Linked DNA regions of Homo sapiens: all the other regions are linked to region 2. Evidence: promoter capture Hi-C in 16 types of primary human blood cells and fetal thymus (Javierre and others, 2016). All regions are on one chromosome and are shown on one strand. Each heading gives the region's core, a stretch centred on a gene start or on the middle of the fragment in contact. The rest is flanking DNA. Distances are from core to core; before and after follow the strand shown.

Region 1 (4,783 bases), core at 1,929-4,428, 320 kb before region 2:
TCATTGTCTGCAGAACAATGCTTAAATGCTATAGCCTGCCATTCAAATCCCTCCACTCCATGAAGCCAAAATGAAAGGGAAGGAATCAGGTTAAAAAGCCAGGCAAATTCCCTTCCCTCTGAGATTTGGCAGCATCCTCTCCCCTCCACCCCTGCTGCGTGCGACTGGTCTAAGCTGTTCACCAAGCATGCCTTGCGTTTGTCCCATACCAGTGCCATTGCTCATTCTGACTCTTCCACCATGATTCCTTCTCTTCCCTGATAACCAGCTCTGCTGCTCAAAACCCTGCTTATCCTTCAAAGCCCCACAGGCCTTTACTGATTCCCCAACCGGATATGAACTTTCTGTCTACCTCTGGGAAATTTTTCACAATCTTTTTAGATCAGGTACTACTCCCTAGGAAGCAGGACTATTACTCTGACACCTCATCTCGCTCCTCTGCCCTGCCAAACCAGGCTCAAACTCCTGCTGTCCTGGCTCTCACTGCCCAAACCCATTTTTTATGCTCAACTGGACTTTCAACTTTGTTCCTCTATGCTTCTTGCTTTGACCTGGAACTTTCAGATTTGGGGCCTACCGTTTCCATCAGTGTCTTGGTAGTCCTAGCTCCTGCCTATAAATGTACATATATTCCCTTGATACTACTGTACTGACAAACCAGTCAATGAGTTTCCAATTTCCAGAGCCCTTTACTCCAGCAGCCATTGCTGCTGCCCTTGTCAGACCCCAGGCCACAATCTCCCAGCTGCCCACTGAGCACTGCTGGCCAGGCTTTAGCCATTGGATCATGTCATTAACTTCACGGACACAGAATATTTTTCTTGGATCTGAATTCTTTGTGTGTTTGTCTCACACTTTTGACCTCTTAAGGGTGGAGTCTGCAATGCCTGACACAGTGCCTTGCAAACAAGAGCTCAGAAGATATTAACTCAACACTGTTTGAACACGGGCACCTTAAGGTGACTCGGGCAGCTCCCAGTGGGTTCCAGCCATGGCCACACCTCAGGGTGCTGCTCACCCACAGCTAGGCGCAGGTTACGCTGTCTCTTAAGGTTGATAACTGGACACTTCCAGAATGAAAAGGACCAAATGTCCCCATTTTGAATGTATGTCCCCTGCTGTGTTCCCAGGACCCGTCAGTCTCCTCCTTTCCTGCTTTTGCTCAACTTGTACGTGACCACCAGTCACACCAGAAAAAAGAGACTCTCTCTGGCTAGCCTGCAGGGTCCCTGAGGCCAGGTGCTGGGGTTTTTGTATGTCTGTACCTCCCCAGGGCCAAGCCCCTGCCTGCTCCGTGCTGGGCCTAGAGTTTGCACTCATTACAGTTTATGGCTTGAACACTTTCGGCCCCAGCCCGTGCCCTCTGTTCGTGCCATGTTTGCTTTCGGTGGTTGCTAGAATCTTTTTTCTCTCCTTTAAATTTCTGCCTGAACATTTTATAACATTTGCATTTTGATTTTTAAGTATTAATGTATTCTCCATTTATTATTGATAAGAGAAAAGGCGGAAGACAGAAGGGCCTGTGGGAAACTGATGGCATCACCCAGGGGTCAGACAAGCTTCTGTTTGAACCCTGCTGTGCTAGTTCTCTATGCTATGCAGCTGATTACCTCAACGTGATTCATAATAACACAAGTATTTCTTATTTCATTTTCAGTGAGGCAGGAATTTAGGGGTGACTTAGCTGGGAGGTTCCAGTTGAGAATTTCTCATGTGGTTGCAGTCAAGATGTCAGCTGAGGCTGAGTTATCTGAAGGCTTGACTGAGGTTGGAAGATTCACACCTAACATGGGTCACCCACTTGGCTGCTAGCAGGAGGCTTCAGTTTCTCGCCATATGGGCCTCTTCATAGACAGTGTGAATGTCCTCATGACTTTCGGCTAACTTCGCCCTAAGCAAGCACTCCGAGAGACAGAAGGCAGAAGCCACATATCATTTATGGCCTAGCCTCAGAAGCAATATACCATCACCTCTGCCACATTCCCTTGGTCACATAGACTGATCCTGATTCAGTGTGGGGGGCTGGGACTGTGGAAGGGCATAAATACTGGAAGTAGGACTCATTGGAGGTCATCTTGGAGGCTGGCTACCACACTTGCTTATCCAGGGAGTGTCTTTGTGCAAGTTATTTAACCTCCCTAAGCCTCAGTTTGTGCATTTGTAAATAATAATATTTACAGAGATTCGTGAAGATTAAATACTTATGAAGTCCTCTTACAAAGTGCTTGGAACTGCCCCAAGGTCTTCCCACATTTCCCAGGACTCCTCCAGGAAAGCCAATTGCAGCTTCTCTTTTAGAAACCCTCCATCCTCTGCTCTCACCTCCTCCCCTATTCATCCTTTCCCTCCTCACTTGTCAGGAAATTTTCTAATCTGACAGGGTTGTTGTGGGGGTGAGCCTCCTTCTTCAAACCTCATGTCCCCAAATACATGTCTATGCTTTGGTCCTCCGTGTTCCCCTAGGGACCATGCTTTGGAATCCATGCCTTCAGATTACTGCAGCCCCAGCTGACACTTTGACTGTATCTACAGCAGAAATTCTGGACTGGAACCACCCAGCTGAGGGACTCCCAGATTCTTGCCTCATGAAAGGTGTGAAATAAAAATCTTGTTTTAAGTCACTTTGGGAAGAATCTTGCTGGTAATTTCCACCGTCCCCCACCATCCTATCATCTCCCTGACCATATCAGGACTGAATATTTGCTTGGGAAGAACGCCAGAAAAGAAAAAAAAAAAGTTTTTTTAAATAATAATAACCCCAAAATTGGTTATTTTAGAAATCTTATTTTACCAAACACAGGATAAATATAAGATATCATAGGAGTTTCACTCACATCCATGTGAAGAGACCACCAAACAGCCTTTGTGTGAGCAACAAGGCTGTTTATTTCACCTGGGTGCAGCGGGCTGAGTCCAAAAAGAGAGTCAGGGAAGGGAGATAGGGGTGGGGCCGTTTTATAGGATTTGGGTAGGTAAAGGAAAATTATAGTCAAAGGGGGTTGTTCTCCGGTGGGCAGGGGTGGGGGGTCACAGGGTGCTCAGTAGGGGAGCTTTTGAGCCAGGATGAGCCAGGAGAAGGAATTTCACAAGATGATGCCATCAGTTAATGCAGGAACAGGCCATTTTCACTTCTTTTGTGATTCTTCAGGTACTTCAGACCATCTGGATGTATACGTGCTGGTCACAGGGGATATGATGGCTTAGCTTGGGCTCAGAGGCCTGACAAGAAGTATCTCCTAAATTTGACTGGCTTCTTGGAGGAGATTACTATCAAGTGCAAATGAGAGCCACCCAGTGTCTTAGTCAAGATTCTCCAGAGAGACAGAACCAATAGGCTAGACATATAGATGATTGGATAGACGATAGATAGATAGATAGATAGATAGATAGATAGATAGATAGATAGATACATAGATACATAGATACATAGATAGATACATAGATGGAGTAGGTAGACAGATACAGAGGAGGGATTTTATCAGGGAAACTGGCTTATATGATTGTGAAGGCTGAGAAGTCCCATAACAGGCTGTCTGCAAACTGGAGACCCTGGGATGCCAGTAGCCTGGCCTAATCCAAGTCCACAGGCCTCAGAACAAGGGAAGCAGATGGTGGAACTCTCAGTCCAAGACCAAGGACCTGAGAACCTGGGGAGCCTCTGGTGCAGGTCCTGGAGTCCCAGAGCTGGAGATCCTGGAGTTCTGGTGTCCACGGGCAAGAAAAGAAGGGTGTCCTGCTCCAGGAGAGAGAGAGGAAATCACCTTTCCTCTGACTTTTTTGTTCTTTCTGGGCCGCAGCTGATTGGATGGTGCCCACCTACCTTGAGGGGAGATCTTCCTCATTCAGCCTATCAACTCACACTCCAGTCTCCTGGAGACATCCTCACAAACACACCCAGAAATAATGCCTTCCTAGTTCTCTAGGTATTCCTTAATCCATCTAGGTTGACACCTAAAATTCACCATCACATGCAAAGTATCAGTTCCTAGGCTGCTGTAACAAAGTACCACCAACTGTGTGGCTGAAGATAGAACTGTGTTGCCTCGCAGTCCTGGAGGCTGGGAGTCTGAGATCAAGGTGTCAGCAAGGCCTGCTGCCTCTGAAGCCTGGAGGGGAGTCCTTCCTTGCCTCTTCCTGGCTTCCAGGGGTCACCAGCATCTGTGCTGTTCCTCGGCTTGCAGCTGCATCACTCCCATCTCTGCCTTTGTCATCCCATGCTGCTCTCCCTGTGTGTCTGTATCTTTGCATGATGGTTTTAAAAATAAGGACATTATCATATTGGATTAGGAACCTACCCTACTCCAGTATGACTTCATCTTAACTAATTATATCTGCAAAGACACTCTTCAAATAAAGTCACATTCTGCAGTACTGAGGGCCAGAACTTCAACACATCTTTTTTGGAAGAGCACAATTCAGCCCATACACTTGGAGAGGGATGGGGTGGGCCCTGGATTCGGTTTCAGCTCCTTGTGTAGAAAGTGACTGTGTAAACTCAGGTAGGTGTGGAGTATTTCTGCCCCTGCTGCCAGCAGGGATTGAGCTGGGGTGGGGGTGGTTGGCCCCAAGCTACAGGGGGAAGATAATCAAGGAGGCTAGGGGATCAGGGTGACCCGAAGTGAGTCAAAGACAATAGTCAGACAGTGAAAAGGAAGACTGTCCCAAACGGAAGCTGGGACAGGAAGGGAACAAAGAAATGAGTATGTTTAGATTACCAGATACTCTTATAAGTTGAAATGTTGAAACACTTGAAAAATGACAATTATTTAGGATGGTAGGAAGA
Region 2 (4,785 bases), core at 1,868-4,367:
CAATTTTGCACTGACTGACAGAATTCCTGCGGGGAAAACTGAGGCATCTTGCTTCTCATGTAAACCTTGCCTGTCTCCTCATAAATATTTTATTTCCCAAAAGCCATTCCTACAAATTGCCTTATCATTTGCCAAGGATCTAGACCATCTGCCAAAGCAAGTTCACACATCCCTCCTTGCTGATAACTGGGTTTATCTGTTTGCATTTCTGTGTATCGTCGGTTAGTCTGGCTTATCTACTTATGAGATTGTGTGTTCTTTAACACACTGGACACCATATGGCCCCCAGCAGAGACAGCAGTCCTGTTGCCTACCTATGGGCACTATTTGTGTGCCTTTCAACCCTGACTATAAAATATCAGGTCCCTAGTACATCTAAAATTTGTTTGGACTGGGAAGATTTTACAAAATTAGAATCAAAAATTTAGTTCTTCCCGCCCCTATTTTTAAAGCAATGTGTACAATATGCATACAGAATAAATAAATAACAAATTATTTACACAGTGAAACTAAATGAACTATAGCTACAAGCAACATCACCAAATCTTACTAACCTAATATTCATTGACAAAAGCAAATCCCAGGAGACTACATAGACTATCACATTGTTTCTAAATTTCAAAAACACAACTAAACATCATTGAGGAGTCCCCCGAGCCACACATGTACACACTTACGCTCAGACTCAATACATCTGGGCTTGGCTGGTATTTTCCTTTCATTTCCTGGCACCGAATTCACAGGTGGATAGAACTGGTCTCATCAGGCTCCCTGGCTCCAGACTTCCTCAGCTCCTGGGTGCTACTCTTTTCCCCACAGACCCCTCCCCACTTCCTTAGTGTCCTGGCTGAGGCTGAAGCAACTTAGCATTCACCTGGCCCCCACCCCCTTCCTCCCACTCTCACCTGCTCTGTCAGAAAGAGGAGATGGTGCTTTCTCCATAGCTCTCTTCTTCCTGTGGTCTCCCTATTCTAACAAACACCAAAAGACTTTGGGTTTCTGAGAATCGCGCTCCTTGGTCTCTTAGTGCCATGGGCCTGTTAGAGCATCCCACTAATTTATTCAGAGGTTGCTGTATCCTGCATCTTCACAAAATCTTGCTGTCCCTTCCACACTCGACCATGCCTCAGTTGAAGCTTGAGCAATAATTGGAAAGGTCCCCAGAGGCCACTCCATTGAGTGAGCATTGGGCCAAATCTGGACCCTCCATCATGGCAGCCTAGGATCTTGCAGCTCGATGACTTTTGCAGGCAAATTCACAGATACATCCCCTTCAGTCTCTTTCCATTCATTTCCAGTCTCTTCATCTGTTTCCACTTTTCAGACACCCAAAGTTCTTCAATGATAACTATTGCCACATACATCATTCCCTAGGGGCCAACTATGTGCCCATTTCTGTGCTAAACACTCTATCTCATTTCATCAGACTCAGGACACTTCTCCATTTCTTGATTAATTCTGTGAGGTCTTGTTTTCCCCTTCAAATCTTAGGAATGATGTGCATTTCAGAAACAAAGTCCAAGGGGATTTTTCAGGATGATGCCTTAAAATGATCTCATGATCACTACTATTTACTCCAAAATCAGGATTTAAGATTCTTTTGAAACTCTGAAATGTTTCTGGACAACAGAAAATAATCATCTGCTTCCAGTCTTCCCTGAGGACAAGCCAGCAGGAAACAGCTTTAACTTGTTGCATAAATTAATGAGATTAGAAGAAATAAAGCATTTCCTGACAATGAGAACTATAAAAAAAATGCACATAACAACTGAGGCACGTGGAGATTCATAATTGAGGCACGTGGAGATTCCCTGGAATAAGAATACTGAAGTCCTCAATGAGGCAAAGTCTCATCTATTATATTTTCTCTTGAAATTATTATAATTTCAGGTTCCTTTCAGAAGCCCAAGTAATAAAATAAGAATTCTCCTCTCTTCCAACTTCTGTGGCTTTGGCTTCCTTTTGTTGATTCACCACTTCCATTTATTTGCTCTTCCACTACCAGAGTCCCTTGAATCTGAACGACTAAGCCTGATTTTCTTTGGGGGAAAATTTGTCTAGGTTTTACTTCCCCCCTTTAAGACATGACATGTGTGCACACATGCACATGTGTGTGTGAGCCATTCTAATTCTTTATTTCTTCAGTGAAAAACATACACTTCATCTCTCCCTTCAAGTATTGCATGAACTCGATGAACTTAAGCCTTCTAAAGATAATGTGTTCAATTAACAGGCGATTTGATAAGTATGCTAGGAAATGCCATGTACTCCAAGTCCTCAGAGAAGCTCTGGTTAGCTGGCTGCGGTGGGATCTGCTTTTGTGGAGTTTCTTCCCATGAGGGTATCAGTCAAGAGAACCTGGAACCCAAGAGGCTTGTCCCAGGCAAGGAGGCTTGGATTCCTCCCGGGACCTGCTCCTGCGATCCAGAACCAGAGCATGCAATTGCTGGTGAGGGAAAGGCAGGATTCGGTCTTCATCCTTCATGGAGAGGTGTGTTCTTGGAAGTACACCTTCTGGGAGGAAAATGAGTTTTAGTAAATAAAGTTATTTTCTCCAAAAAGAGTTTAAGTTCCTTGGGCTTCAATAGGGGTTAAATAATTACTAGCTGGATTGGTGGTTTTAATTTTTAGTTCAGGAAATCCGATGTTATCTGATGTGATGGAAGGAAACAAAAACTCTGCAAGGAGAATACACATTGTCCCAAAGAGAAACTTGTTTCTAACATCTTCCCTAAGATGGCAAACGGGTCCAAGACTTTGTGCGTGTGTGTGTGTGTGTGTCCCCACCTTTAAACTTCAAACCCCAGATCTCTGTTGCTTACTCATCCAGTGTGGATTACACTACCAGCAAAACATCCCAGGAAGGAGTCCAGGGTGGCCGCCCACAGTTAGGAGAGAACCCAGAACGGAACGACGGACTTGTTTGCTTTCTTGCCCCTGACTCTCCCCGTCCTCCCTGGGAGGGTTGGGGATGTGAACTAATGACTTCTGCCTCTTTCGGACCGCCTTTGAGGCTCCAGAGCCTCACCTTACTTTCCCACGGAGAGGGAGGCCACAGGCTCCTTCAGCAGTCGCCGAGCAGAGTCCTGGGCCGGGAGCGCGGGGGAGGGAGCGAGCGGAACTGCGCCTAGGAGGCCGAGGGAGGAGGCGCTCCGCAGACCCTGGCGCGCCGCGGAGAAGCTCAAACTTTGGCAGGGTAAGGATTTTTAGGGGCTCTTGAGCTGGAATTTTTTGGGGGGCGCCGGGAGGTGTGCTGGGGCCGCAGACCCCATACAGGAGGTAAGTTAGAGAACCACACGCAGGGGAGGGATGCTGCTGCTTCCAGGGGCGGGCGCGGCGCTGTCCGCAGCCCCCGGTGCTGAAACGGGCCGCGGGCTGGAGAGAAAGTGAAAAAGGATCGGCTACGGCCTCGGCTCCCACTCCCCGGCTCCCATACCCCTCCAGTCCAGTTCAAAGGACAGGAAGCCCTCCCCGTGCTCCCCAAGCCGATCGCACCCCCTTTTACTCACGTCCCACAGCCGCGCTGGGCCGAGCCCGCTGAGCCGTCGGGGCGGGAGGCAGAAGGAGCAGGGCTGGCTCCCGCTGGGGACGGGTAGGGCTTGCAGCCGCGACCCCACCCCATACATTTCCTCCTGTCACGCTGTCCCCGGACCGCCAGTCCGGGAAGGACCCACTTCCCCGGCTCCAAGTCGGGAGCGGGCGCCGCGTCTTCTCGAGTCCGCGCCGCGCCGGGGGAGGTTGAGTCAGTGGCCTGGAGGGAGCAGGGCCGGGGGAAGGCAGCGGCGAAGGACTGCCCCCCAACCCAGGGGACTATTTTCCCTTGGGGATTCAAAGAGAAAGGTAGGCTGAGGAGGAGGCGAGAATTAAAATTCTTTTAGGAGTGCGCGGTTACTTTTTTTAATGATAAAATCACACCCGGGATCTCGGACGCCCGGGGCTTAGTGCTCGGTGATGGAGGAGAAGGGGCGGCGGGCTCTCTGATCCTCTGCAATCCCCTAACCGGATAAAGGCGCCGGGCTCCCAGCCGTCAGGCTTTTCTCTTTAGCTCAGCCCGCGGCCCCTCCCGACGCCCCTGGGGGCCTTGGCGCGCAGGCCCTCGCAGTCCCGCAACCCCGGGCCGGGTGATTCATTTTTCTCCCTGTGTAATCTCCCTACTGAGCGGCGCAGCTGGGACTTTAACTTCGGCCCTCTGCAGCGGGGGTCTCCGGTTGGCGCGGCGCGTGAGGGAGGATGAATGGCGCTGGAACCTAGAGGACCTGGAGCCGGCGCCCCGGCCTCTTTGGCCTGAACCAGGTGCCTCTGACACGCAGTCCGCCGGCTCAGGCCTCGCCGGAAGCTGGCGGGAGCAGTCCCTTGCAGCGAAGCCCGGCACCCCGACGGCAGACGCTCCCCATCACATCTTCCAAAGGGGCGAGGCTGGGATCAGCAGGAATGGCACCCACCCGGGTTCAGACTCCATCCCGGAGTGGACAGCTCGGTGCCCCTAACATTATGCACTGTCCGCCACCCCCTCCCCCCAACACATACACACTTTCATTCATGAAAACCAGCAAGAATAGTGCTGTCTGGGCACGGAGTCCAATGTACAGCGTGCGTTCACGCTGAGAATTCATGGGGGACGCGGGTGGTTGGGCCGGGAGAGGAGAGATGGTCACTTGTGTGTGGTATCCACCAACTGGGTCTTCTACGCCAGAGTCCCAGTTGTAGAAAAGTCGGCCAGGTCAGAGGACCCAGATGGGATTTCACTAAGCTGGTGGGAGCTTCTTTGCGTTCTTTGGGGTAGGG
Region 3 (4,188 bases), core at 480-2,979, 450 kb before region 2:
ATAATTTTTGTATAAGGTATAACGAAAGGGTCCAGTTTCAGTTTTCTGCATATGGCTAGCCAGTTTTCCCAACATCATTTATTAAATAGGGAATCCTTTCTGCATTGCTTGTTTTTGTCAGGTTTGTCAAAAGATCAGATGGCTGTAGATGTGTGGTGTTATTTCTGAGGCCTCACTTCTGTTCTATTGGTTTATGTATCTGTTTTGGTACCAGTACCATGCTGTTGTGGTTACTGCAGCCTTGCAGAATAATTTGAAGTCAGGTAGCATGATGCCTCTAGCCTTGTTCTTTTTGCTTAGAGTTGTCTTGGCTACGTGGGTTCTTTTTTCGTTCCATATGAAGTTTAAAGTAGTTTTTTTCAATTCTGTGAAGAAAAGTCAATAGTAGCTTGATGGGGACAGCATTGAATCTATAAATTACTTTGGGCAGTATGGCCATTTTCACGATATTGATTCTTCCTATCCATAAGCATGGAAAGTTTTTCCATTTGTTTGTGTCCTCTCTTAATTTCCTTGAGCAGTGGTTTGTAGTTCTTCTTGAAGACGTCCTTCATATCCCTTGTAAGTTGGATTCCTAGGTATTTTGTTCTCTTTGTAGCAATTGTGAATGGGAGTTACTCATGATTTGGCTGTCTGTTATTAGCGTATAGGAACGCTTGTGATTTTTGCACAGTGAAGTATCCTGAGACTTTGCTGAAGTTGCTTATCAGCTTAAGGATATTTTGAGCTGAGATGATGGGGTTTTGTAAATATACCATCATTTCATCTGCGAACAGAGACAACTTGACTTCCTCCTTTCCTATTTGAATACTCTTTATTTCTTTCTCTTGCCTGACTGCCCTGGCCAGAACTTCCAATACTGTGTTGAATAGGGGTGGTGAGACAAGGCATCCTTGTCTTGTGCCAGTTTTCAAAGGGAATGCTTCCAGTTTTTGCCCATTCAGCTTGATAGTCGCTGTTGGTTTGTCATAAATAGCTCTTATTAGTTTGAGATATGTTCCATCAATACCTAATTTATTGACAGTTTTTAGCATGAAGGGGTGTTGAATTTTGTCGAAGGCCTTTTCTGCATCTATTGAGATAGTCATGTGGTTTTTGTCGTTGGTTCTGTTTATGTGATGGATTACGTTTATTGATTTGCATACGTTGAACCAGCCTTACATCCTAGGGATGAAGCCAACTTGATCGTGGTAGATAAGCCTTTTGGTGTGGTGCTGGATTTGGTTTGCCAGATTTTATTGAGGCTTCTCGCATCGATGTTCATTAGGGATATTTGCCTGAAATTTTCTTTTTTTGATGTGTCTCTGCCAGGTTTTGGATCAGACGATGTTGGCCTCATAAAATGAGTTAAGGAGGATTCTCTCTTTTTCTATTGATTGGAATAGTTTCAGAAGGAATGGTACCAGCTCCTCTTTGTACCTCTGGTTGAATTTGGTTGTGAATCTGTCTGGTCTTGGACTTTTTTTGGTTGGTAGGCTATTAATCACTGCCTCAATTTCAGAACTTGTTATTGGTCTATTCAGGGATTCGACTCCTTCCTGATTTAGACTTAGGAGGGTGTATGTGTCCAAGAATTTATCCATTTCTTCTAGGTTTTCTAGTTTATTTGCGTAGAGGTGTTTATAGTATTCTCTGATGGTAGTTTTTTATTTCTGTCAGATAAATGGTGATATCCCCTTTATCATTTTTTATTGCATCGATTTGATTCTTCTCTCTTTTCTTCTTTATTAGTCTGGCTAGTGATTTATTTTGTTGGTCTTTTCAAAAACACAGCTCCTGGATTCATTGATTTTTTGAAGGGTTTTTTGTGTCTCTATCTCCTTCAGTTCTGCTCTGATCTTAGTTATTTCTTATCTTCTGCTAGATTTTGAATTTGTTTGCTTTTGCTTCTCTAGTTCTTTTAATTTTGATGTTATGGTGTCGATTCTAGATCTTTCCTGCTTTCTCTTGTGAGCATTTAGTGCTATAAATTTCCCTCTGCACATTGCTTTAAATGTGTCCCGGAGATTCTGGTACATTGTGTCTTCGTTCTCATTGGTTTCAAAGAACATCTTTTTTCTGCCTTCATTTCATTATTTACCCAGTAGTCATTCAGGAGCAGGTTGTTCAACTTCCCTGTAGTTGTGCAGTTTTAAGTGAGTTTCTTAATCCTGAGTTCGAATTTGATTGCACTGTGATCTGAGAAACTGTTATGATTTCTGTTATTTTGCATATGTTGAGGAGTGTTTTCCTTCCAATTATGTGGTCAATTTTAGAATAAGTGTGATCTGGTGCTGAGAAGAATGTATATTCTGTTGATTAGGGGTGGAGAGTTCTGCAGATGTCTATTAGGTTTGCTTGGTCCAGAGCTGAGTTCAGGTCCTGAATATCCTTGTTAATTTTCTGTCTCGTTGATCTGTCGAATATTGGCAGTGGATGTTAAAGTCTCCCACTATTATTGTGTGGGAGTTTAAGTCTCTTTGTAGGTCTCTAAGAACTTGCTTTATGAATCTGGGTGCTCCTGTATTGGGTGCATATATATTTAGGATAGTTAGCTCTTCTTGTTGCATTGATCCCTTTACCATTATGTAATGCCCTTCTTTGTCTCTTTTGATCTTTGTTGGTTTCAAGTCTGTTTCATCAGAGACTAGGATTGTAACCCCTGCTGAAAAGGAGTATTCTTGTGCCATTGAATTACCTTGACACATCTGGACAAGAAGTTTTAAACTTGATCTTCAAAACATGTAGTTTAAATCTTCTGATGTTTTTCTTTTTAAAACTTGTTTGGTCTATTCTAGATGCTTAACGTTTTCCATCTAATCTTGAAAAGCAGCTTATCAATTTCTAAAAAAAAAAATTGTCTGTTGAAATTTCTATTGGAATTGCTTAATCTAAAACTGATCTGGGGAGAATTATCATCTTCACAGTCTTCTAATCCATGAACGCGGAATCTTTCTCAATATATCTAGGAGTTCTTTAATTACTCTATATTACAGTTTTCAGTGTACAGGTCTCAACATTTTTTTTGTTAAATTTATCCCAAAGTATGCAGTGATTTATGCCATTGTAAATCACATTTTTCTACAACATTTTATTTTTGTATTTGTTATGAAGAAATCAGTTACTTCTGATTACTGACTGTATTACTTTTTGGTATATTCCTTAGGACTTTCTATGCACACAATCACATGGTTTGTAGACAAAATCCTTTTTGTTTTTCCTTTCCAATCTGATGGCTCTTATTTCTGTTTCTTGTCTTAATGTAATGACTACCACATCCAGTACAATGTTTAATGTAAGTGATGAAAGTGGACATCCTTGCCACTTTCCCAATCTTAGAAAGAAAGCATTCAATCTTTTACCATTAATACCATGTTAACTGTTACTTTTCCATAGATACTCTTTATCAGGTTAAAGACATTCTTCTCTATTCTTAATGTGCTGAACAGATGCTGAATGTTGTCACAGGCTTTTTCTACATCTATTCAAATAATTACAAAGGCGTTTAAAATTTTGTTAACAAGAAAAATTATATTGTTTTCAAATAATAATCTTGCATTCCTAGGATAAAACCCTGTTGGCCATGATGCATTACCCTGTTATCACGTTTCTGGATTTGATTTGCTAATATTCTGTTAGAGATTTCTGAATATATGTTTGAAGAGATGTCGCTTCTAGCTTTCTTTAATGCCTGCAATAATCACCTCATAAAACGTGTAAGGAAGGACATTCTATTCCTCTTTTCTAAAAGCGTTTATGTAAGACTAGTAATTTTTCACTAGGTGTCTGATCGAATTTACCAGTTTAGTCATATGAGCCTGCAGTTTTCTTTGTGGAAAGGTTTAAAACTGTAAATTCTATGTCTTTAACAGATATTTAAAAACTAATTTTCTAATTCTCTCTTGGTTAGTTTTAATAATTTGTATCTTTCAAGTATTTGACCACTTCATCTAAATTGCTGAATTTGAGAATGAAGGGATTCATAATTTCTCTTATTCTTTGAATGTTTATAAGATCTGTAGTGATATCCCCTATTTCATTACTGATTTTTTTTGTCTGCCTTTCTTAACCAATCTAGCTACATTCAAAGAATCAGTTTTAGTTTACATTGATTTTTTTTCACTTTCTATTTAATTGATTTCTAGTATATCCTTTATTTTCTTCTATTTAAAGCTGATGCTCTATGTCTTAAACTGGAAATGTAAATTG
Region 4 (4,338 bases), core at 1,759-4,258, 340 kb before region 2:
TACCAGAAACAATGAAAAAATTAAAACAGTAAAATAATGACAATTGCAGAGACAAATATAAGGTAGGAGAGACACAATTCTCTCTGCCAAGTCTGGTGTGAGTTCCCTAAATGAAGAATCGAGAATTGGCCATTTTGCATGGCCTCTGCAGGGTGGTCTGAGGGCAGGCATCACAGCTAGCGCACACACGTACCTGTGCAGTGTTTTCCAGAAGGTAAATTCTACTTCCTTTAAATGTTATTACTTTAATTTCTGGTACTTTAACAAGTTAAATTTAGTATTTTAAATCTGATAGGCTGGGTGCAGTGGCTCACGCCTATAATCCCAACACTTTGGGAGGCCGAGGCGGGTGGATCACCTGAGGTCAGGAGTTCAAGACCAGCCTGACCAACATAGTGAAATCTCGTCTCTACTAAAAAAAAATTACAAAATTAGCCGGGCGTGGTGGTGCATGCCTGTAATCCCAGCTACTTGAGAGGCTGAGGCAGGAGAATCGCTTGAACCCAGGAGACAAAGGTTGCAGTGAGCTGAGATTGTGCCACTGCACTCCAGCCTGGGTGACAAGAGCAAAACTCCATCTCAAAAAAATAAAAATAAAACAAACAAATAAATAAAATAAATCTGATATTTTAAAACCACACACCATGGCTGGTCAGAAGTCTTTATGACCATGAATTAACAAGTGTTTGAATTATTCTTAAAAATGTTAGCAAAGAAATAGTCTGTGCAAAATCTCAAGGGGAATAATTTTGTTTCACCTTTAGTCTACATTACGGTGAGCATCTGTATTCAGTCCTAAAGTTTTTAAAACTAATTTTTTAAATTAACAAACAATAATTGTATATATTTATTGTATACATGATGTTTTGAAATATGTATATGTTGTGGAATGGCTAAATTGAGCTAATTAACATATGCATTACCTCTAATACATTCTTATTTGTGGTGAGAACACTGAAAATCTACTCTCTTTGCAATTTTCAATAATACAATACATTAACAATGGTTACCATGCACTGTCATAAAAGTTTGATGCTTCGAAGCCCTTTCATAGTTTATGCAGGCAAGGAAATATTAATAGCAGAGTCTTTGATCTCCATAAAATATGTGTTCTATCACACTGGAAAATATGATTGCCAGTAAGAGAACTGCTCTTTTTGGTGGAGTAAATATGATTTTCATTTTGACAATGTAATTTTGCTTCTTGTGAATCATCTTACACCAAAATAGCCATAGGATTTTAGAACAAGAAATGGATCTTAAATATTTATTTGAGTCTGGCTTTGGAAGTATCTCCTCCACTTCCAGCTATGGTTTGACAAATTACTCAGCCTGTCTAAACTTCAGTTTCCACAGTTTCACGTTTTTAAAAAAGGGTAAAAATAACTACTGAAGATTAGTTGTAAGAATTGAATAAACTAAAGTACCATGGAATTACCTAGCAAATGGCAGATATTCAACAATGTCACTGTTATAATAATAATCATTATTATAAAAAAGAAAACTGAGGCCCAGAAATGAAGAAACCTATCCAAGACCATGGCAGGGCAGAGACATGACTTCCAGGCCAGGGTCTCGTCTTTTGTTTCGTCTTCGGGTCCATTTAATTAAAGTTGTATATATCTTTGGTGTTTTATATGGCAGGCCACTCTTATAATTATTGTTTTAATCTCATAATAATGTCGAAGACTACAGAATTAAAATTCTACTCCTCTAGTAAAATGATAGCATGGATCAATATAGTAATATCATAAGAGGTGAATGAAATGATTCCTCAAGAGGACTGACATTAAAAGGTTATTAGCCTTAGCTTGAACTTCCCTGAAATCACAAGCTTAAGCCTAGCCACTTTCTATAAGTCAGGGTAGGCCAAGTTATGCTGTGATGATAAAGAACCCCCAAATCTCAATAGCTTAAAACAGCAATTTGTTTTTTTCTCTCCCACAACATGTTGATCCAGGATCCTGGCTAGTGGAGTAATTTGGGTCACTTGTAGCAGAAAGAAAAGAGGGTTATGGAGGGTCTCCTAATGTCGATTTAAATTTTCTGGTAAGAACTGACGTTTCATCACTTCCACTCACACTCATTGGCCAGAACAAGTCATATGACCACACAAACTTCAAGGTACCAGGGAAGTTCAATCCTCCCATTGGCTGGAGATAAATAAGTGGGCCCATCAGTGAACAGCCCTAGTGACTACCATAGGCTTTGACATATTTTCTTTTCTTCTTAGACAAATAAAAAACAGCAGCCTGAGAAAGGATGATGGAAACTATTTTCATTTTCTCATGAATTATCAAGTTCTAAAGAGCAGATTTAATTTTTTGTCATTTATACATTTTTGTTTGTTGGCTTTATACATTTTTGTTGTAGTCACCAGTGAAATATGAATGTTTTTAAAAGCAGTTGGGGAAATTGAAATTTTAATTTTTAGTCTATGTATTAAGAAAAGCAGTAACAGGGAATATTTGAATACTGATTTTTTTCCTTCCTTCCTTCCTTCCTCCCTCCCTCTGATCTTCCCTCCCTCCCTCCTTTCCCTCCCTCCCTCCTCCTCCTCCTCTCCCTTCCTTTTTTCCTTCCTACCTCCCCTTCCTTCCTTCCTTTCTTCCTTCCTTCCCTCCCTTCCTTTCCTTCCTTCCCTTCCTTCCCTCCCTTCCTTTCCTTCCTTTCCTTCCTTCCTTTCGTAGAGTCTTGCTCTGTCACTCAGGCTGGAGTGCAGTGGCATGATCTTGGTTCACTGTAGCCTTGAGCTCCTGGACTCAAGCAATCCTTCCACTTCCGCATCTTGAGTAGCTGGGACTACAGACATGCACCACCAAGCCCAGCTAAATTTGTGTGTTGGGTGGGGGATGGGTCGTAGGGGTATTGGGAGGGGTGCGTCTCGCTTTCTTGCCCAGATGGGTCTCAAACTCCTGACCTCAAGTGATTCTCCTGTCTCAGTCTCCCAAAGTGCTGGGAATACAGGCGTGAGCCACAAAGCACAGCCTCTACTATACTTCTGATGAGAATTTATTAATCATCTTAGACGTAATAATGGCTATTTTGGATTTTGTAGAGGTTTTTAAAGATTTTTTAAATTCGTTTTATCTTTCAGAAATATATACTGAAGTATGAATCAAATGATATAATGATATTTATTTCTAAATAATCTGCAGGGTGGGTGGGGACAGTGGGCGGGGCTATAGAAGAAAGAGGATCAGCCATGAGTTGGTGATTATTGAAGCTGGGTAATCAACGCGTGGAAGTTCATTATGTTAGTCTGTCTAGTCCCTCTACTTTAGGTACGCTTGGAACTTTCCATAATAAAAAGTTCAAAAAGACAAAAGAAGCAATGATAGGCCTACAGCTACTTCAGATCTAGATGAAGCTCCACTAGAGATGGCTAGCAAGGATCTTAGCCCGTTGCTGGTGCAGGTGGGGCCTGCCTGAGGGTGCATCAGGCCCTAGGAAATATTTCCTCCACAGAATTTTCACTGTTGCCAAACGTCTGAATCAACCAATCTTAGCCTGCAGTGGCAGCCAATGGTGCCCATGCTTTGCAGCATCTACTGGGACCTCAGGACCACCTGCTCTTGTCCTCTAAAGAGGCAGTACCCAGGAGCCTCCTGAGGCCATGATTGCTTGCACAGGTTAGCACAGAAGGCTTGAGTCCAGCTCTGAGCTAATTTCCTCTTCTCTGGTTAGTCTGAGACCCTGGTAGGACACTAAAGTTCGTTTGTTCACTAACATGATACGCACAGACTTTTGATGTCTCTGAGGCAGGCAGAAGCATGTGAGGCATTAGCCTGAGCCAAACACAGGCCTAGGATATGACCTGAGAGCTGCTGCAGATGCACCTCCCTGCCTCCTGAGGCCCCTGCTTTCATCACAGCTCCTTTCCCTTGAGCAGCCTGCTCTCAGCTCTAGCTGCTGCCAATCCCTTCCCATCAGAGATGCAGGCTGTAAGCATCACCAGGGTGAAGTCTGGTGCATCACCCGTTTGTTCTCCCTCTGAGAGCGCAGCTCCCCTGCCCACAGCGGTGGACCTCTGGCACACAGGCTTGTTCTTCATGGTCTTGCCTTCCCTGCCATAGTTAATTGGCCATGGACTCCTTTCCCACATTGGCCCAACCAGATTCTCTTGAACGTTTTCTCCAAGAAATATGGATGTTGAAGATGAGTCTGAATTATGTAAAATGTGAAGCTTACATGACTGTCTATGAACTTTTGCTACAGAGGTACCCTTAGCCCCACCCTGCCAAGAACTGGTTGCTCAGCATTTCCATGGATGCCATTGAAACTGGACTTTATGTATACAAAGTTACATACATATATAGTTTCGTAGTTACATATATG
Region 5 (4,791 bases), core at 1,224-3,723, 490 kb before region 2:
AATACAGTCTTCTGGAATAGGCTACACTCAGTGGTTTGAGTTGACCAAATTGTTGATTATATGACCTTATGGGTTTGTCAAAACTCAGAACTATACACTAAAAGGGTGAATTTCACTGCAAGTATACTATAATTTAAAAACAAATACATATAAAATATATATTAAATACATCAGTGTGTCTATGTATATATATGTGTGTGTCTGTGTGTGTATATCTCTCTCTCTCTTTTTTTTTTTTTTTTTTTTTTTACTGTTTTGGGTGAATCCACGAGGGTTGCGGATTCACTCAAGCATATTTTAGCCTGGACCTTTTTTCATAAGGGTCTCAGTGTTCATGTTCCCCTGGGGCAAGAACAAATAATTGAATGTTCAGGTTTAACTCTTGGTGGGCAAGATTAAAGCCAAATTAACTTTAAAACAACAAAATCTTGAAATGAAGTAGATAATATCACTGAGTTCAGGCAGTCCACCCACACTTTTTATTGTTGTGAATTTAATTCTACAGAATCATATGACTGGTCACCCTTTTATCACCTTCCTAACTCCCTCTGACAATATAAGGATTCACAGAACTGACACTGAGAGACATAGAGAGGACTCTCCGGCAGTATGAAAAAAACAAAACAAAACAAAACATGACAATATCATTTTCCCATCTAAGATGCCAGTGCTTGTAATACAGATGTTTTATACCATACCAAGAATGAGAAAAAGAAAAAAAAGAGAATGTTCAAAAATGCAGACCTAACAGATCTTCAGATAAAACAAGGAGTGAGGATGACAAGTACAAACCTGACCCACAGAAAGGGGCAGTGAAGAAAACTTATGTGAGTCATTCTGGGCACCGCAGGAAGGGAGAAAAACTAACTTATTCTTAGAATTTGCGCTATATATCAGTACTCATAGAGGTGTGTGGTCTGAATACATACCAGTGGTCTAAAAAAACCTCAAGCAGACAATTTAATGTTTCCTTGGTAGTGTTGAGACCACCAGTGCCATCCTCTCTGGAAAAACACACCCTTAATCCAGGCTGACCATGACTGTAAGGTGCCCTTGACTGTAACATGGGTCTCAATTTCTGATATAAAAGATGTGAAAAAAACATTTACCTATGTAACGAACCTGCACATCCTGCACATGTATCCCTGAACTTAAAATAAAAGTTGAAAGAAAAAAAACAGTAGCAAAATTAGTACAATAAATGCTGTGTATCCACCTAAAAAAAATCTAAAATGTTCTCTAAAAAAAGGTGAAAGTTTTAGAATTATGGTATTCCTACCCAAGAACAGTTCTAGTGTCAATGAAGAGATTCATAAGGCCTATGTTTATTACTGAAAATGTATCCAGAGGAAAACTGGTTTCCTTTAAGGTTTTTATGAGAACTTAATTTGATTTAAAAATGTCTATATTCAAACAATACCCTTTTAAGGCCCATCTAAACTCCAAAGAGTTAGAAAAATCACCATGGAATGTTTAATTTTTAGTGCAGTTTTCTGCCACTATCGGAACTGGACATCTAGTATGTAGATGATGGATAGGAGATCTGAGTTTCTAGTAATACCACTAAGAAACCGTAATTTTCCCAAGTCAGCACTGTACCATAGCTCAGTCCCTGGGCTTTTTCCTTCCTTGGTGATCTCATCCAGATCCATGGCTTCAGATATACACTAGTGACTCCTAAATTTCTATTTCTAGTCGAGTTCTCATATACCAAACTCGAATACTATCTGCCTATTTGCCACCTCCTCTTGGATATCTAGGAGATACCTGAAATCTAACATGTCCAAATTGAACTACTGATTGTACCTCTGAAACCCGTTCTACCCTCTGCCTTCTTCAATTCAGCTGACTCAACTCTGTCCTTCTAGTTGCTCAGGACAAAATTCTAGAGTCAATTTTGACTCTTCTCTTTCTCTCAAATCCCACATCAGGAAATCCTGTTGGGTGTATCTTCAAAACATACAGCATATCTCATTTTATTGTGCTTTGCTTTACTGCACTTCGCAGGTACTGCAGTTTTTTGTTTGACAAATTAAAGGTTTGTAGCAACCACGCATCAAGCAAGTCTATCAGTGTCATTTTTCCAACACCATGTACTCACTTTCTATCTCTGTGTCACATTTTGGCAATCTTGCAATATTTCCAAATTTTTCATTATTATTATATCTGCATGGTGATCTGTGATCTTTGATGTTGCTACTGAAATTGTTTTAGGGCACCACAAATTATGCCCACATAAGATGGCAAGCTTAAATCGAAAAATGTTATGTGTGTTCTCATTGCTCCACCAACTGCTGTTCTCCCAACTCCCTTCCTCTCCTCAAGCTTCCCTATTCCTAAGATACAATAATATTACAATTAGGCCAATTAGTAGCCCTACAATGGCCTGTAAGTGTTGGAGTAAAAGGAAGGGTTGCACATCTCTCACTTTAACCCAAAATCTGGAAATAAGGTTAGTGAGGAAGACATGCTCAAAGCCAAGAGAGGCTCAAAGCTAGGCCTTTAGTGCCAAACAGCCAAGCTGTGAATGCAAAGGAAAAGTTGTTGAAGGAAGTTAAAAATGCTATTCCAGTGAACACACATGTGGTAAAGAAGGAAAACAGCCTTATTGCTGATAGGGATAAAGCTTTAGTGGTCTGGATGGAAGAGCTAAGCAGCCACGGCATTCTCTTTTTTTTTTTTTTTTTTTGAGATGGAGTTTCGCTTGATGCCCAGGCTGGAGTGCAATGGCGTGGTCTTGGCTCACTGCAATCTCTGCCTTCCAGGTTCAAGCGATTCTTGTGCCTCAGCCTCCTGAGTAACTGAGATTATAGGTGCACACCACCACACCCAATTTTTGTATTTTTAGTAGAGATGGGGTTTCACCACGTTGGCCAGGTTGGTTTCGAACTCCTGACCTTAGGTGATCCACCTGCCTCAGCCTCCCAAAGTGCTGGGACTACAGGCGTGAGCCACCACGCCTGGCCTTGCCATACCATTCTCTTAAGCCAAAGTCTAATCCAGAGCAAGGCCCTGACTCTCTTTAATTCTGTGAAGGCTGAGAGAGGGGAGGAAGCTGCAGAATAGCTGAAAGCTAAAAGGGATCGATTCATGAGGTTTAAGAAAAGAAGCCAGCTCCATCACATAAAAGTGCAAGGTGAAGCATTAAATGCTGATGTACAAGTTGCAGCAAGTTATCCAGAAGATCTAGCTAAGATCATTGATGAACGTGGCCACACTAAACAACAAATTTTCCATGTAGATCAAGCAGCCTTCTGTTGGAAGATACCATCTAAAGAGAAGTCAGTGCCTGGCTTCAAAGCTTCAAAGGACAGGCTGACTCTCTCTTATTAGGGACTAACACAGCTGGTGGCTTTAAGTTGAAGCCAGTGCTCATCTGCCATTCTGAAAATTCTAGAGACCTTAAGAACTGTGCTAAATCTATTCTACCTGTGCTCTATAAATGGACAAGGCCTAGATAACAGCACATCTATTTATAACATGGTTTACTGAATATTTAAAATCCACTGTTGAGACCTAATGCTCAGAAAAAAGATTTCTTTCCAAATATTACTGCTCAGTGACAAGGCAACTGGTCACCCAGGAGCTCTGATGAAAATGTACAAGAAGATGCACGTTGTTTTCATGACTGCTAACACAACATCCATTCTTCAGCCAAGGATCAAGGAGTAATTTCAAGTTGCAAGTCTTCTTATTGAAGAAATACACTGCTTAAGGCTATAGCTGCCACAAAGGGTGATTCCTCTGATGGATCTGGGCAAAGTCCATTGAAAACCTCCTGGAAATGAGTCACCATTCTAAATGCCATTAAGAACATTTGCAGCTGGGCACAGTGGCTCAAGTCTGTAATCCCAGCACTTTGGGAGGCTGAGGCGGGTGGATCACCTGAAGTCAGGAGTTCGAGACCAGCCTCGCCAACATGGTGAAATCCCATCTCTACTAAAAAAAAAAAAAAAAAAAAAAATGTAGCTGGCAGTGGTGGGACGGGCCTATAATCCCAGCTATTCAGAAGGCTGAGGCAGGAGAATTGCTTGAACCTGGGAGGCGGAGGTTGCAGTGAGCCAAGATTGTGCCAGTGCACTCCAGCCTGGGCGACAGAGTGAGACCCCGTCTTGGAAAAAAAAAAAAAAAAAAGAACATTTGTGATTCATGGGAGAAGGTTAAAATGTCAACAATAGGAGGCTGGAAGAAGTTAATCCCAACCCTTATGGATGACTTTGAAGGAAGGGTTCAAGACTTCAGTGGAGAAGTCACTGTAGATGTGGTAGAAACAGCAAGAGAAAAGAATTAGAAGTGGCATCTGCAGATGTGAATGAATTTGTGCAATCCCATGATAAAACTTGAACGGAAGAGGAGTTGTTTCTTAGGGATGAGCAAAAAAAGTGGTTTCGTGAGATGAAATCTACTCCTAGTGAAGATGCTGTGAATATGCTGACAATGACAGCAAAGAACTTAGAATACTACATAAACTTAGAGGCAGGGTTTGAAAGGATTGACTCCAATTTTGAAAGAATTTCTGCTGTGGGTAAAGTGCTATTAAACAGCATTGCACGCTACAGAGAAATCTTTTGTGAAAAGAAGAATCAATGAATGTGGCAAACTTTACTGCTGTCTTATTTTAAGCAACTGTCACGGCCATCCCAACCTTCAGCAACCACTACCCTGATCAGTCAGTGGCTGTCAACATTGAGGGAAGGCCCTCCACCAGCAAAAAGATGACGACTTGCAGAAGGCTGACATGATCATCAGCAGTTTTTAGCAATAAAGTATTTTTGAAATTAAGGTATGTAC

Evidence for each region. Contacts are between HindIII fragments. The CHiCAGO score rates a contact against its expected background, and 5 or more counts as called.
Region 1: a contact is called between a fragment that was not itself captured here and the fragment with the promoter of CNGA3 in region 2, in 1 of 17 cell types (M2 macrophages). The highest score is 6.3, in M2 macrophages.
Region 3: a contact is called between a fragment that was not itself captured here and the fragment with the promoter of CNGA3 in region 2, in 1 of 17 cell types (naive CD8 T cells). The highest score is 5.8, in naive CD8 T cells.
Region 4: a fragment that was not itself captured here is called in contact with the fragment with the promoter of CNGA3 in region 2 in 1 of 17 cell types (M2 macrophages); the score reaches 6.0 in M2 macrophages.
Region 5: a fragment that was not itself captured here is called in contact with the fragment with the promoter of CNGA3 in region 2 in 6 of 17 cell types (total B cells, naive B cells, total CD8 T cells and 3 more); the score reaches 8.9 in total B cells.

What each region holds. Positions count from the first base shown.
Region 1 is chr2:98,028,228-98,033,010 of GRCh38, forward strand. No RefSeq gene overlaps it. Among named protein-coding and RNA genes, the nearest start is that of TMEM131, 35 kb to the left of the region's middle. The HindIII fragment of the contact is 3,242 bases long and covers 1,558-4,783 here.
Region 2 is chr2:98,343,339-98,348,123 of GRCh38, forward strand. CNGA3 (cyclic nucleotide gated channel subunit alpha 3) reads left to right here and starts at 3,118. Exons shown (of 8, transcript NM_001298.3): 1 at 3,118-3,196. RefSeq lists an enhancer at 3,618-4,129. The HindIII fragment of the contact is 4,952 bases long and covers 1,135-4,785 here.
Region 3 is chr2:97,894,044-97,898,231 of GRCh38, forward strand. The region is part of intron 3 of TMEM131 (transmembrane protein 131); the gene reads right to left. Among named protein-coding and RNA genes, the nearest start is that of TMEM131, 100 kb to the right of the region's middle. The HindIII fragment of the contact is 6,077 bases long and covers 1-4,188 here.
Region 4 is chr2:98,002,142-98,006,479 of GRCh38, forward strand. No RefSeq gene overlaps it. Among named protein-coding and RNA genes, the nearest start is that of TMEM131, 8.4 kb to the left of the region's middle. The HindIII fragment of the contact is 2,352 bases long and covers 1,833-4,184 here.
Region 5 is chr2:97,849,492-97,854,282 of GRCh38, forward strand. The region is part of intron 5 of TMEM131 (transmembrane protein 131); the gene reads right to left. Among named protein-coding and RNA genes, the nearest start is that of ZAP70, 140 kb to the left of the region's middle. The HindIII fragment of the contact is 301 bases long and covers 2,324-2,624 here.